Regions from separate parts of the Homo sapiens genome. Here all the other regions are linked to region 2. The links are contacts of gene promoters, found by promoter capture Hi-C in blood cells and fetal thymus (Javierre and others, 2016). All regions are on one chromosome and are shown on one strand. Each heading gives the region's core, a stretch centred on a gene start or on the middle of the fragment in contact. The rest is flanking DNA. Distances are from core to core; before and after follow the strand shown. Region 1 has its middle 59 kb from the start of ASIP. Region 2 holds the start of DYNLRB1 (dynein light chain roadblock-type 1). Region 3 overlaps NCOA6 (nuclear receptor coactivator 6).

The links. The method cuts DNA at HindIII sites, captures the fragments that hold promoters and counts their contacts. A CHiCAGO score of 5 or more calls a contact.
Region 1: a fragment that was not itself captured here is called in contact with the fragment with the promoter of DYNLRB1 in region 2 in 1 of 17 cell types (M2 macrophages); the score reaches 5.4 in M2 macrophages.
Region 3: a fragment that was not itself captured here is called in contact with the fragment with the promoter of DYNLRB1 in region 2 in 1 of 17 cell types (megakaryocytes); the score reaches 5.0 in megakaryocytes.

Annotation. Positions count from the first base shown.
Region 1 is chr20:34,180,027-34,183,916 of GRCh38, reverse strand. No RefSeq gene overlaps it. Among named protein-coding and RNA genes, the nearest start is that of ASIP, 59 kb to the left of the region's middle. The HindIII fragment of the contact is 3,228 bases long and covers 670-3,890 here.
Region 2 is chr20:34,514,018-34,517,881 of GRCh38, reverse strand. It overlaps DYNLRB1 (dynein light chain roadblock-type 1), which reads right to left and starts at 1,460. Exons shown (of 4, transcript NM_014183.4): 1 at 1,421-1,460. The coding sequence starts at 1,423. RefSeq lists enhancers at 929-1,108, 775-1,640, 2,029-2,268, 2,379-2,438 and a silencer at 1,459-1,568. The HindIII fragment of the contact is 8,760 bases long and covers 898-3,864 here.
Region 3 is chr20:34,772,563-34,776,533 of GRCh38, reverse strand. NCOA6 (nuclear receptor coactivator 6) reads left to right here. Exons shown (of 15, transcript NM_014071.5): 4 at 86-241. Among named protein-coding and RNA genes, the nearest start is that of NCOA6, 51 kb to the left of the region's middle. The HindIII fragment of the contact is 1,998 bases long and covers 1,682-3,679 here.

The DNA of each region.
Region 1 (3,890 bases), core at 1,034-3,533, 330 kb after region 2:
GTTTCACCATATTGGCGAGGCTGCTCTCCAACTGCTGACCTCAGGTGATCTGCCTGCCTTGGCCTCCCAAAGTGCTGGGATTACAGGCGTGAGCCACTGTGCCCAGCCCAGGGTGTTTATTCACTACCAGTGGTGTTGTTTCCTCTATTAGATTTTAACTCCTGAGTTCAAGGGCTGTGTCTTATTCACCTGTGTATCCCCACTGCCTAGGGGGTCTATGGTGGTTGTTCAATAAATGCTTACTGATTGATATATAAATCAAATATAAGCAACGTTCCAAAGAGTTACAGCTGTGAAATTGGTGGTACAGGTAATAAGCACTAGAGAAGCTCAGAAGAAGAAGTCATTGTGGGCCAGAATGGTCAGAGAAGGTTCTGCAGAAGGGGTAGAAATATTTCATGAAAGAATTTGACTCTCTGGACAGAGATGGAATGGAATATGGACAGTGCACAGACTTCCAAATCATTTAAACTCTGAGAGCCTCAGTTTCTCATTGATGCAAAAAGTGTTTTTAAAATGGGAACAGTAAACCTACATCATAAGCAAAGAGTAAATGAGATAGTTATATAAAGTAATTAGCACAGAATGTGATACACACAAAAGGATTTTCTTTCCTCTGTACTTTTTCTTTTACTGACCTGTATAGTCATCCCATTGGATTTGAAAGCTTTCCTGAGTCTTCTGGAGCTCCTGGTGCCATTTCCTTCATAGCTCCAGGAGCTCTCCAGACACCAGAGGAGATATTCCTAAGCCAGGGAGGCTTTGTTCACTCTCTATGGATAAATAAGATAGATAAGCACTCTAAATACTTTTTATTGTCTATCCTTGAGCACATATGACCATGTTGGGCATAGGGACTTTGGCTAGGCAAAACATTTCCAATTTTATCTTCATTTCTACTTCACAGAACTTTATTATTAGAAGAGCTCTGGTAGGGCTCAGTGGCTCACACCTATAATTTGAGCACTTTGGGAGGCCAAAGTGGGAGAATTACTTGAGGCCATGACTTTGAGACCAGCCTGGGCAACATAATGAGACCTGCCTCTACAATTAATAAATAAATTAGCCAGACGTGGTGGCACATGCTTGTGGTCCCAGCTAGTCTGGAGGCTGAGGTGGGGAGAATTGCTTGAGCCCAGTAAGTCAAAGCTGCAGTGAGCCATGATCATGCCACTGCACTCCAGCCTGGGTGACAGAGACAGACTTTGTTTAAAAAAAAAAAAAAAAGTTCTTGGAGATAATACAGTATATAACTTTTATTTTACATATTTTTAAAAAACCAAAACAAATTTAGCCTAAAGCAATTAAGTGATTAGTTAGTGGCAGAACTGTGAAGTATAGTTGGGTGTCTTTTGATGTCTTTCCCAGTGCTCTTTCCAATATATCAGGCTATTATATACTTCTATATGTTGGAAAGTCCCATTCACTTTTCACATTTCCATCAACATTGGCAACCCAGTTTTTCGGCGAAATTCAGAGACATCCTATATGGGACCTTTGGCTTGTTTACCAAAGGACGAGGAAGATCAAGTGATTGATACAAGTTGAGAATCACTAATCTGAAAATCTGAAATGTTCCAAAAGCTGATGCTTTGTAAGTGCTGACATGAAGCTCAAAGGAAAAGCTCACTGGAGCATTTTGGCTTTTGGATTTGGGATGTTCAATCAGTTCATTGAGTTAACCATTTCTCTAAGGAGTCCTGGTTCCATGAATAATTTTTTAGGCCAGGCACGGTGGCTCATGCCTGTAATCCCAGCACTTTGGGAGGCCGAGGTGGGCAGATCACTTGAGGTCAGTTTAAGATCATCCTGGCCAACGTGGTGAAACCCCGTTTCTACAAAAATTAGCTGGGCATGGTGGTGCACGCCTTTAATCCCAGCTACTCAGCAGGCTGAGGCAGGAGAATCGCTTGAACCTGGGAGGCAGAGGTTGCAGTGAGCTGAGATCATACCACTGTACTCCAGCCTGGGTGACAGAGCAAGATTCCGTCTTGGGGGAAAAAAAAAGTAAAAAAGAAAAAAGAAAGATCTCAATAAACATTAATTGATTATGAAGGTGTGGGAATCTGGGGGCACAAATGTCAATAAATGAAAGTTTTTTTTAGGGGGAACATTTTGTAATCATTGAGGCAGGAAAATAGGGTCTAGAGGCAGGGAACATAAGGCCAATTCCCACTTCAGCTAGGACAGGAAATATCCTCTCCATAGGGCATAGGCCAAGTAAATAGCTTTGTATCTTTACTTCATCCTCTCTATTTGCATAGGGCATACCTGAAGTAACCAATAGAATCCTCTAGAGGGTATTTAAACTCCCCAAAATTCTGTAATGGGGCCCTTGAGCCCCTACGCTCGTACCTGCTCCCACACTGTGGAGTGTGTACTTTCATTTTCAATAAATCCCTTCATTCCTTCCTTGCTTTGTTTGTGCATTTTGTCCAATTCTTTATTCAAGATGCCAAGAATCTAGACACCCTCTTAAATGTGACAATCATCTTAAATGTTACATTTTTTCCCCTAGGTACAACTCTCCTAGGTATAATAATCTTACCTGTTTCTTCTGCTGAGTGTTCATGTGTGAAATAAAAAATGAGTATAAGGAACACTTTATTGAACCTGAGGGTGCTCATGGACTGTCAATATAGGGGAGAAGATATTGCTCAGAAAAATTTAAACCCTGCAAAAAGTTTGCCGGGAATGTTAATTTGAAAGTGCCCCCACCATAGAATGAGAGAGCTTTAGTGAGGAGGGCAAACAGCATCATGTAAAGTGCCCAAGATTAAGGAGAAACAGCTGGATGGCACAAACTGTTTTAATTGTGTGGAAGATAATTGGCCCAACTGGTTTGTGAAATATTAGGAAACAAAGGCACACCAGAGAAAAACAAATAATGATGCAAAACTGCTGAAGCGCAACAATGAGATTCATTTCAACCTAAATTATGCCTTAAGGCACAGTCTCTGCAAACTAGGAAAGTATTTCTTTTTTTTTTTTTTTTGAGACAGAGTCTCGCTCCATCGCCAGGCTGGAATGCAGTGGCGCAGTCTTGGCTCACTGCAACCTCTGCCTCCTGGATTCAAATGATTCTCCTGCGTCAGCCTCCCAGGTAGCGCGGATTACAGGCATGTGTCACCATACCCAGCAAATTTTTGTATTTGTAGTAGAGATGGGATTTCACCATGTTGGCCAGGCTGGTCTTGAACTCCTGACCTTCTGATCCGCCCGCCTCGGCCTCCTAGAGTGCTGGGATTACAGATGTGAGCCACCGCGCACGGCCCAGAAAATATTTCGATTGAAGTTTTCTAAACCTGCTTTGGAGCTTTAGGAAGTTGTAAATATATCAGATTTTGAAAAATGGTCTCCAATAAAACTTCAGTTCTCTTCCTTATTAGAGGATTTTATATTGTCTTGTTGTTTGATCAAATTTTCTATAAAGGCTTTGTGAGTTATAAGGTCTCTGTGACAGCTACTCAACTCTACTTGTCCAAAAGCAGCCACAAAGGTTTGTAAACAAGTGGGCACGACTGTCCAGTAATACTTTATTTACGAAAAAACGGGGTGGGCCAGATTTGGCCTGCTTGCTGATGTAGTTTACCAACCCCTGATCTATCTGATCAAACCCAAATGCTTCACTCTGGCAGAACATTTCATCATTTGTCTCTGCCGAATCTTTCATTGTTTTCAACATTTAGTCTAGTTCCAGTCCAGATGTCCTCCCATCTCCCAAGTGGTCTGCTCATTCTTGCTTTCAGAACTTTGCATATGTGGATTCCTCATCAGCCTCTTCCCTACATTCCGCCTTTTCAAGTCCTACCCATCCTTTAAGTGTCTGACTATAGCTTCTTCATGATGCCTTTACGGGTAACTCCAACAAACATCCTTTCTCCTTTTTC
Region 2 (3,864 bases), core at 211-2,710:
GCAGATCACGAGGTCAGGAGATCGAGACCACCGTGTTGAGGCGGACTAACACGGTGAAACCCCGTCTCTACTAAAAATACAAAAAATTAGCTGGGCGTGGTGGTGGGCGCCTGTAGTCCCAGCTACTCGGGAGGCTGAGGCGGGAGAATCACTTGAACCTGGGAGGCGGAGGTGGCAGTGAACTAAGATGGTGCCACTGCACTCCAGCCTGAGCGACAGAGACACACTCCATCTCAAAAAAAAAAAAAAAAAAAGAAATAATGAATGTTTAAGGTGATGGATATTCTATAATAAATATAGCCTGATTTGATCATTACACATCATATGCATGTATCAAAATATTACATGTATATCTACAACATAAATGTGTACAACTATTATATATCAATTTTTTTTACAGCTTAAGAAGTGATGTGAAAAATGAAGTTATACATATTTGAAGCATTATTACATGTTTGTAATGATGTGGAGATATTGTGGTGTAATAATGAAAAACACAGAACCCACAATTGCACATTCAATAGGGGCTAAACTGTATAAACCAAAAACAAGCAAAAAAGACTAGAAGTCATATGACTACTGTAAGTGGTTGCCTCTAGGTGATGACACGGTTTCTTTTTTCAATTTTTTTATTACAAGCTCTAGATTTCTAAATAAGATTTTTGAAAAAGTAATATATTCACATGGCTTAAAATTTGAAACTTTTTCAAATTTTGCCCAAGCTGTGAGGATTACAAACACAAAACCTGTAACGGCGTTGAGAACCCACAGCTGCAGCAAGCAAGGTAGAAAGCAAGCTTTGGGATCCCCAAGAGCAGACCCCGCCCGTTCCTGACTCTGGCACCCAGTCCCAGCGGCTAGAAAGAACCACGCCGACAGAGTGGCGGCCGTCAAGCTTCTAGGGTTCAAATCCATCTCCACTATTTCCTGGGGCAAAGCACTTGGCTTCTCGGGGCGCTGAATAACAGATATGTATAACAAAATGGGACTAAAGATTGTATCTACCTCACAGAGCTGGGAGGAGGCGGAGGAAATACAAGATACATAAAGTGCTTGGCAGAGCCTGCCACAAACTGAGCTCCCGGGAAACGTTGCCAGGGTTGCCATCGCGCACCAAGGCCCCAAAACTCTAGGCTGCAGGGCCGCCGCCCACCCCTCGCCCATCATCTCTTCCTGGCCGAGGCTGGGCTCCCGCTTCCGGTCAAGGGGCAGCGGGATCCGGCGGCCCCGCCTCGGTCAGGCTTTAGAGGCCTCCGCCGCCGGGTTCCACCCTCAAGTCGGCTGGGGCCCGGGCCCGGCCACGCCCAGCCACCACCGATTCCCTGTCCGGAGCTCTGAGATCCCCTCATCCTCGGAAGACTGAAGGCCTGGCGTGGGGTGGTGGGCGGCCGCCAGCCACAAGACCCCGGCGCACGCTCACCATTTCCGACCGATCCGGTAGCCCCGCGTAGCGAACACTTAGCGAGTCCTGTGCCTTTCTGCGCCTGCGCAAAGGTTTCTGTCAAAACGGACAGCTCTAGCTGCCTATCAGGAGCCAGCGTGAGGCGGGGGCGGGCGAGCCGATCTTGGCTCCGCCAGGATTCTTGGAAAATCTGCTTTCCACTGTGGCAAAGCGAAAAGCTAAGGAGCAGTGCGCTAAGCTGTGGAAAATTCCCAACTCCAGCCGTGCAGAAAAGATGCTGGTTCTGGCTGGACGCGGTGGCTTACGCCTGTAATTCCAGCACTTTGGGAGGCCGAGTCGGAAGGATTGCTTGAGCCCAAGAGTTCGAGACCAGCCTGGGCAACATGGAGAGACCCCTTCTCTACTAAAAAATAAACAAAATTAGCCGGGCGTGGTGGCGCGCTCGTGTAGTTCCAGTTACTCCAGAGGCTGAGGTAGGAGGATCGCCTGACCAGGAGTTCGAGGCTGCAGTGAGCCGAGATTGCGCCACTGCACCCCAGCCTGGGCGACAGAGCAAGAGACCCTGACTAAAACAAAACAAAACAAAAACCATGCTGGTTCTCGGTATCGGAAGAGGCTTTCAGTGCTGGTTCTCGGTATCGGAAGAGGCTTTCAGCTCTCAATGGAGGTCTAAGCTGGTTCTGGAGTCCCTGAGTGGAGCGTGGTGGGAGGGTATGAAGGCAAGTGGGACGGTTGCTGAGACCCGCTTTGCGCCCAGACTGAGCCAGAGAGAGGCCCAGGGCCAAAATGCGCTTCGGGATCGGGCAGGCCTGGGGTGGGGCTGGAGTCAGGTACCTCGAGTCTCCGGGTAAGATGCCGTGCAAGCTCGGAGATGAATTGGTTAGGGCTGGCCTGGGAGTCTTTAGAATCCGAGCTCAGCCCCGCCTCGCGTTACCTAGCAGAAGGCACTTCACATCTGTGTGTTCTGTCTTGTTCTCACCTCTGAAAGGGGGACTCTTCCCAGAGCCCTATGTTGTCCTGTTCCGGCAGGCCGCAAACGTTTCTGGGTCCTCTAGGAGTAAATAACTTCTGTTAAAACATGCTGCCGTTTAGTGAACCCTGTGCCACATTACTGTGCTGAACACGCACATAACGTTATCTCCGGTAGCTTCAGGGAAGTATCGGTAACCTCGATACTTTATAAATGCTGTTTCTCCCAGGCACTGTAGCTTGCTGGATTCAACGATGATCTAACTCCAAAGTTTCATTCCACAGTAGCTGCTCTTCAGTGAGGAAGGATTTGGTTCTCCTTCCAGGAGTGTCTGCATGTTAAGAGGATTGACTTTACTGCGAAGAAACCTAGCAGACACCACCGTAACCAGATCAAAGTTAGTATTACTGGCAAGGGGAGATATTGATGCCGTGTGCCCCGATAAAAATGCGTTAAGGGCACATCACCTCCGAGTCATTTTCCACAAAAACTCCCAGCCTTAAACCATGAGAAAATTTCACTAAATCCAGTGTGAGGGATGTTCTACAAGATACCTGTACCCCGCCCCCGCCCCCCAAAATCTCAAAGTCATGAAAGCAAGGAATGAATGCGGAACTGTCACAGATTAGAGGAGTAAGGAGAAAGAAAAATAACATGGGTGGGAAAATTGGTGAAATCTGAGTAAGGGCTGTAGTTTAGTGTTATTTTTACCAGTGTTAATTTATTAGTTTTGGTAATTCTAGCATGGTTATATGGGATCATAACATTGGAGAAAGCTGGGTGAAGACTGTGCAGGAACTCTTAACCATTTTTGCAACAGCTCTGTAAATGTAAAATTATTTCAAAATAAATTTTTAAAAGGACTGGATCCAAAGGAATTTCTATTGAATGCTGGAAACATTAGGAAAGCATTTAGCAAGGGGAAGAAGTGCTGCAGAGACTGGACCCTAAAACATCCTGGAAGATAAGCACTGGAAGAATCACCACTGTCTTGCCCATGGAGAACCAGACTGAGAGGAGTGAAAGGATTTTAACAGATTACAATCCCAGAAGCAAAAAAGAGAATGGCCAATAGTTCATGTGACAGGAGCCAAAATGAGAATGAAGGAGGAGCTGGAATAGGACCAAGAATGTCCCGGAGTGGCAGGCTTAGAGTTTTGGCCCGGCGCAGTGGCTCACACCTGTAATCTCAGCACTTTGGGAGGCCAAGGTGGGCGGATCACGAGGTCAGGAGTTCGAGACCAGTCTGGCCAACATAGTGAAAGCCCCTCTACTAAAAATACACAAAAAATTAGCCGGGGGTGGTGGTGTGCGCCTGTAACCCCAGCTATTCGGGAGGCTGAGGCAGGAGAATCGCGTGAACCCAGGAGGCGGCGGTTGCAGTGAGCCAAGATCGCCCCACTGCACTCCAGCCTGGGCGACAGAACAAGACTCCGTCTCAAAAAAAAGAAAAAAAAGTTTTATTCTGCGGTAATGGAGAAACCACTGTAAA
Region 3 (3,971 bases), core at 1,431-3,930, 260 kb before region 2:
TTTGCTCTTTTGGTTTGTTTTTTAATTCCATCTCCTCTGGTGGCTAAAAGATTATTAATATAATTCTTTTTCTTTCACAATCAAGAGTCCAGCAAGCTAAAAGTACAGAAGGTGGAGCCCTGGAACAGCGTGCGTGTGACATTCAACATCCCCCGGGAAGCAGCGGAGCGGCTACGGATCCTTGCTCAGAGCAACAACCAGCAGCTTCGGGATTTAGGGATTCTCTCCGTTCAGATTGAAGGTCTTTTACTTTGCCATGTGCCCATCTAGACCAGAATCATTACAACAGTAGAATATAGCATGATTTTCTGTGCTGCTTTGTCTGTTCCTCTGCTCTTGTGTTTCAGAATGCCAAGCAACTCATGTAACTTGTACTTTGCTTTGCAGCACCTTAGGATGAAGAGGGACTGACTGAGGTTATTGCTGGGTCCTGATGGTCTTTAGCATCTGTAGCCTTGGACTCCATTCCTTTGGCTAATTTTGACCATCAGTCTTTCAGACTTTGATTTTATTGGCATCCTGACCAGGAATTGATTTGTCTTATTTATTTATTTAGTTGTGTGGTTTTCTTTGTTATTGTTGTTATTTTTAGAGACAGTGTCTTTCTGTGTTGCCCAGGCTGGACTCAAACTCTTGGCCTCAGATGATCCTCCCATCTCAGCCTCCTGAGTAGCTGGGACTACACCTATACCACTGTACCCAGCTTAACATATAATTTAATTTGCTTCCTTCCTTCCACCAAATAAACTTTAGTATTTTCTTTATTCGTCTAACAGATTATGAAGCCTTCAACAGTCCTTTCCTTTTGTAGCAGCATTCATTTTCTTTTCTTTTTTTTTTCTTTTTTTTTTTTTTTTTTTTGAGACAGAGTCCCAGGATGGAGTGTAGTGGCATGATCTCAGCTCACTGCAACCTCCACCTCCCAGGTTCAAGTGATTCTCCTGCCTCAGCCTCCTGAGTAGCTGGTATTACAGGCATGTACTACCATGCCCAGCTAATTTTTGTATTTTTAGTAGAGATGGGGTTTCACCGTCTTGGCCAGGCTGGTCTCAAACTTCTGACCTCAGGTGATCCACCCTCTCGGCCTCCCAAAGTGCTGGGATTACAGGCCATCACGCCGGCCCGCAGTGTTCATTTTCAGTATTTTTACCAGAATGATCTTTTTCAAAATGAGAATTTGATGAGCACGTGCACGCACGCACAGACACACACACACACACACACACACCTACACCCCTATAACCCTACACCCCTAGATTAAAATCCTGCTATCTCTTGGTATTATTCAAAGAATGAAGACCAAACTCCTTACCATGACCTCAGGCTTTGCATGGTCTCACCTCTACCTTCCTCATCCAGCCTTATCTTGTGTAACTTTCCTCCCTTGCCCCCTGTGTTCCAGCTTCTCAGCTTTCTCTTCCTCCTGCCACAGGTCCTTTGCATTGATGTCTTCTCTAAATGAAATACTATTCCCTACCAACCCCCTTCCCCTAGTTCATGCCTGCTCAGCCTTCAAGTATCAGCTTAAATCTTGAGGATGTATTTTCTGAACTCCTTTGGCAAGTCAGAGTCCTTTGCTATGTGCTCTCACAAAAGTTTGTTTCTCTCCCTCAGATCATTTATCTCACACTTTCATAGAGCAATTATTTGATTATTGTTTTATCCCCATAGACTATAAGCTTTAGCATTTGGAATACAATGATAAATATTGTCCTTATTGTTATAAACTCGGAAGAGCTTATGACTTTAGTAAGGAAGACAAACCTGTGAGAGATGTAAGTACCTACCATGTGTGGGGGAGCTCTTTGGAAGCTCAGTGAACTAGAACCCTCTCTTCCCCTCCTGTGTTGATACAGCCAGGTGACAACCAGCAATTCCAGCTTTCCCTTCCACTTTAGTCCAGGTCCTCCTGGCCCTGTGCTTACGTAGAACCTAATTGCTCCATGAAACCTGAGCAGTCGAGGTCATTTTGTTTATAGGAGTGAGACACATTTTATGCAGTCTAGCATTGTAGGTTGCTGTGCCCTCAAAGGGGCAATACCAACAAACAAATTATTTAGAAAGGGTTATATGTAGATTGAGAAATGGGATAATTTTCACCATTTGATAAATGAGAGAATAGTGGCTTAAGCAATACCACTTTAATTTGAAAAATGTGGAACTATCTAAAAGGATCCAGAAAAGTACAATTAATTCACAGCAATCTGTAGGATGAACTATTAGGAAAAGTGGAAGTCGAACAACTATTGGATAAAATAACAATATGTGGGCTGTTTATACTTTAAGGAATACATAAGTGGTTTCTTTAAAACCCCACATGTTTTTTGGTCTCTGTTACCTATTTAAAGGCTTCAAAACCTTAATTGATAGTGTTTTTCACTGGAGAAAGAAGTACCAGTTTTATTTCTTAAGCAGACCTACTTCCTAAAACAATATAATGCTGGTTCTCCCTTAACATTATAGCCATAAATTTAAACATGAGTACTAGCAAGGAAGCAAATAGATAACATATTTTAAGAAATTATGAAATTCACATATGACAATGATTATCACAATACAGAAAGAGTTCTTTAACTTTTAGGCTACATGTGTGTCCCAGATGATCTCTGTTCCCATGCTCCTGGGAATTCAGCAGGAGTGAAAGTGATGGCAGCAGCTATTGCTTTTGTGGAACTGGGCTGTTGATTTTGTAAGTTGTAAGAAGAATGTTGGCCAGCCACGGTGGGTCACACCTGTAATCCCAACACTTTGGGAGGCCAAGGTGGGTGGATCACTTGAGGGGAGGAGTTTGAGACCAGCCTGGCCAACATGGTGAAACCCCGTCTCTACTAAAAATATAAAAATTAGCCGAGCATGGTGGGGCGTGCCTATAGTCCCAGCTACTCGGGAGGCTAAGGCAGGAGAATTGCTTGAACCCAGGAGGTGGAGGTTGCGGTGAGCCGAGATCATGCCACTGCACTCCAGCCTGGGTGTCGAGCAAAATTTTCCTGGGTGGAGGTTGCGGTGAGCCGAGATCACGCCACTGCACTCCAGCCTGGGCGACAAGAGCAAAATTTTGTCTCAAAACAACAACAACAAAAAAGAAGGAATGAAGCAATGTTGCCACTATCGTGTCTGCTGCAAGGCTTGAGGGACAGGTTCTCCCAACAGTCCGTTCTCCATTGACAAATACTTCCTGTACCCTTCCTTTTTTAAGTTTTGGCCAGGGAATTGGGGAAACATCTTTTTTGAGGACATTTTGTGCCCCCTCTGTAAATTCATGGTGATCTAAAGAGTAGTCTGCTAACTTTTTCTGTAAAGGGCCAAGAATAAATATTTTTGGCTTTGCAGGCCATAAGATCTCAACTCAACAAGTACTCAGTTCCATCTTGTAGGGCAAAAACAGCCATAGGCGATATGTAAACAAGTAAACATGGCAGGATTTCAGTAACACTTTATTTAAATAAACATGCAGTGGGCTGCATTTGGCCCACAGGACGTAGTTTGTGGACCCCTAATTGGCAAGTTTGGGAGCCGGTAGTGTTCTCTTTGACACAAATTAGCATATATGCAGTTGGTAAATAGGGGAATGATAGCAGTATAGTGTGGAAATTCTGTTTATTAATATGTGATTTTTTTTCTTAGGTAAGAGGAGCTGGAATAGTAGAAATAGAATTATAATTATCAACAAGAAAAAGCTTTTCACTCAGCTGTTGCATGTGTGGGAGTCTTTTCAGCTCTATTAAAATTAAGAATGAGAGTGTATATTCGTATGCCTTCCTGACGTGCATCCCCCAGCCTTGTGTGGCTCTCAGTTCATGACAGGTTGCATTTCTTCCTGTGCCCACCATAATGGCAGCCCCGCTGGCTCAGAACTCCACTACATGTGCATTATCTCAGCACCTTTAACCAGGCATTTCTGCTGCATTTTTTTCTGGCATTTTGCCTCCACCAGTTATTGTTTTTATTAGAGCTCTGGTTACAAAGTCTCA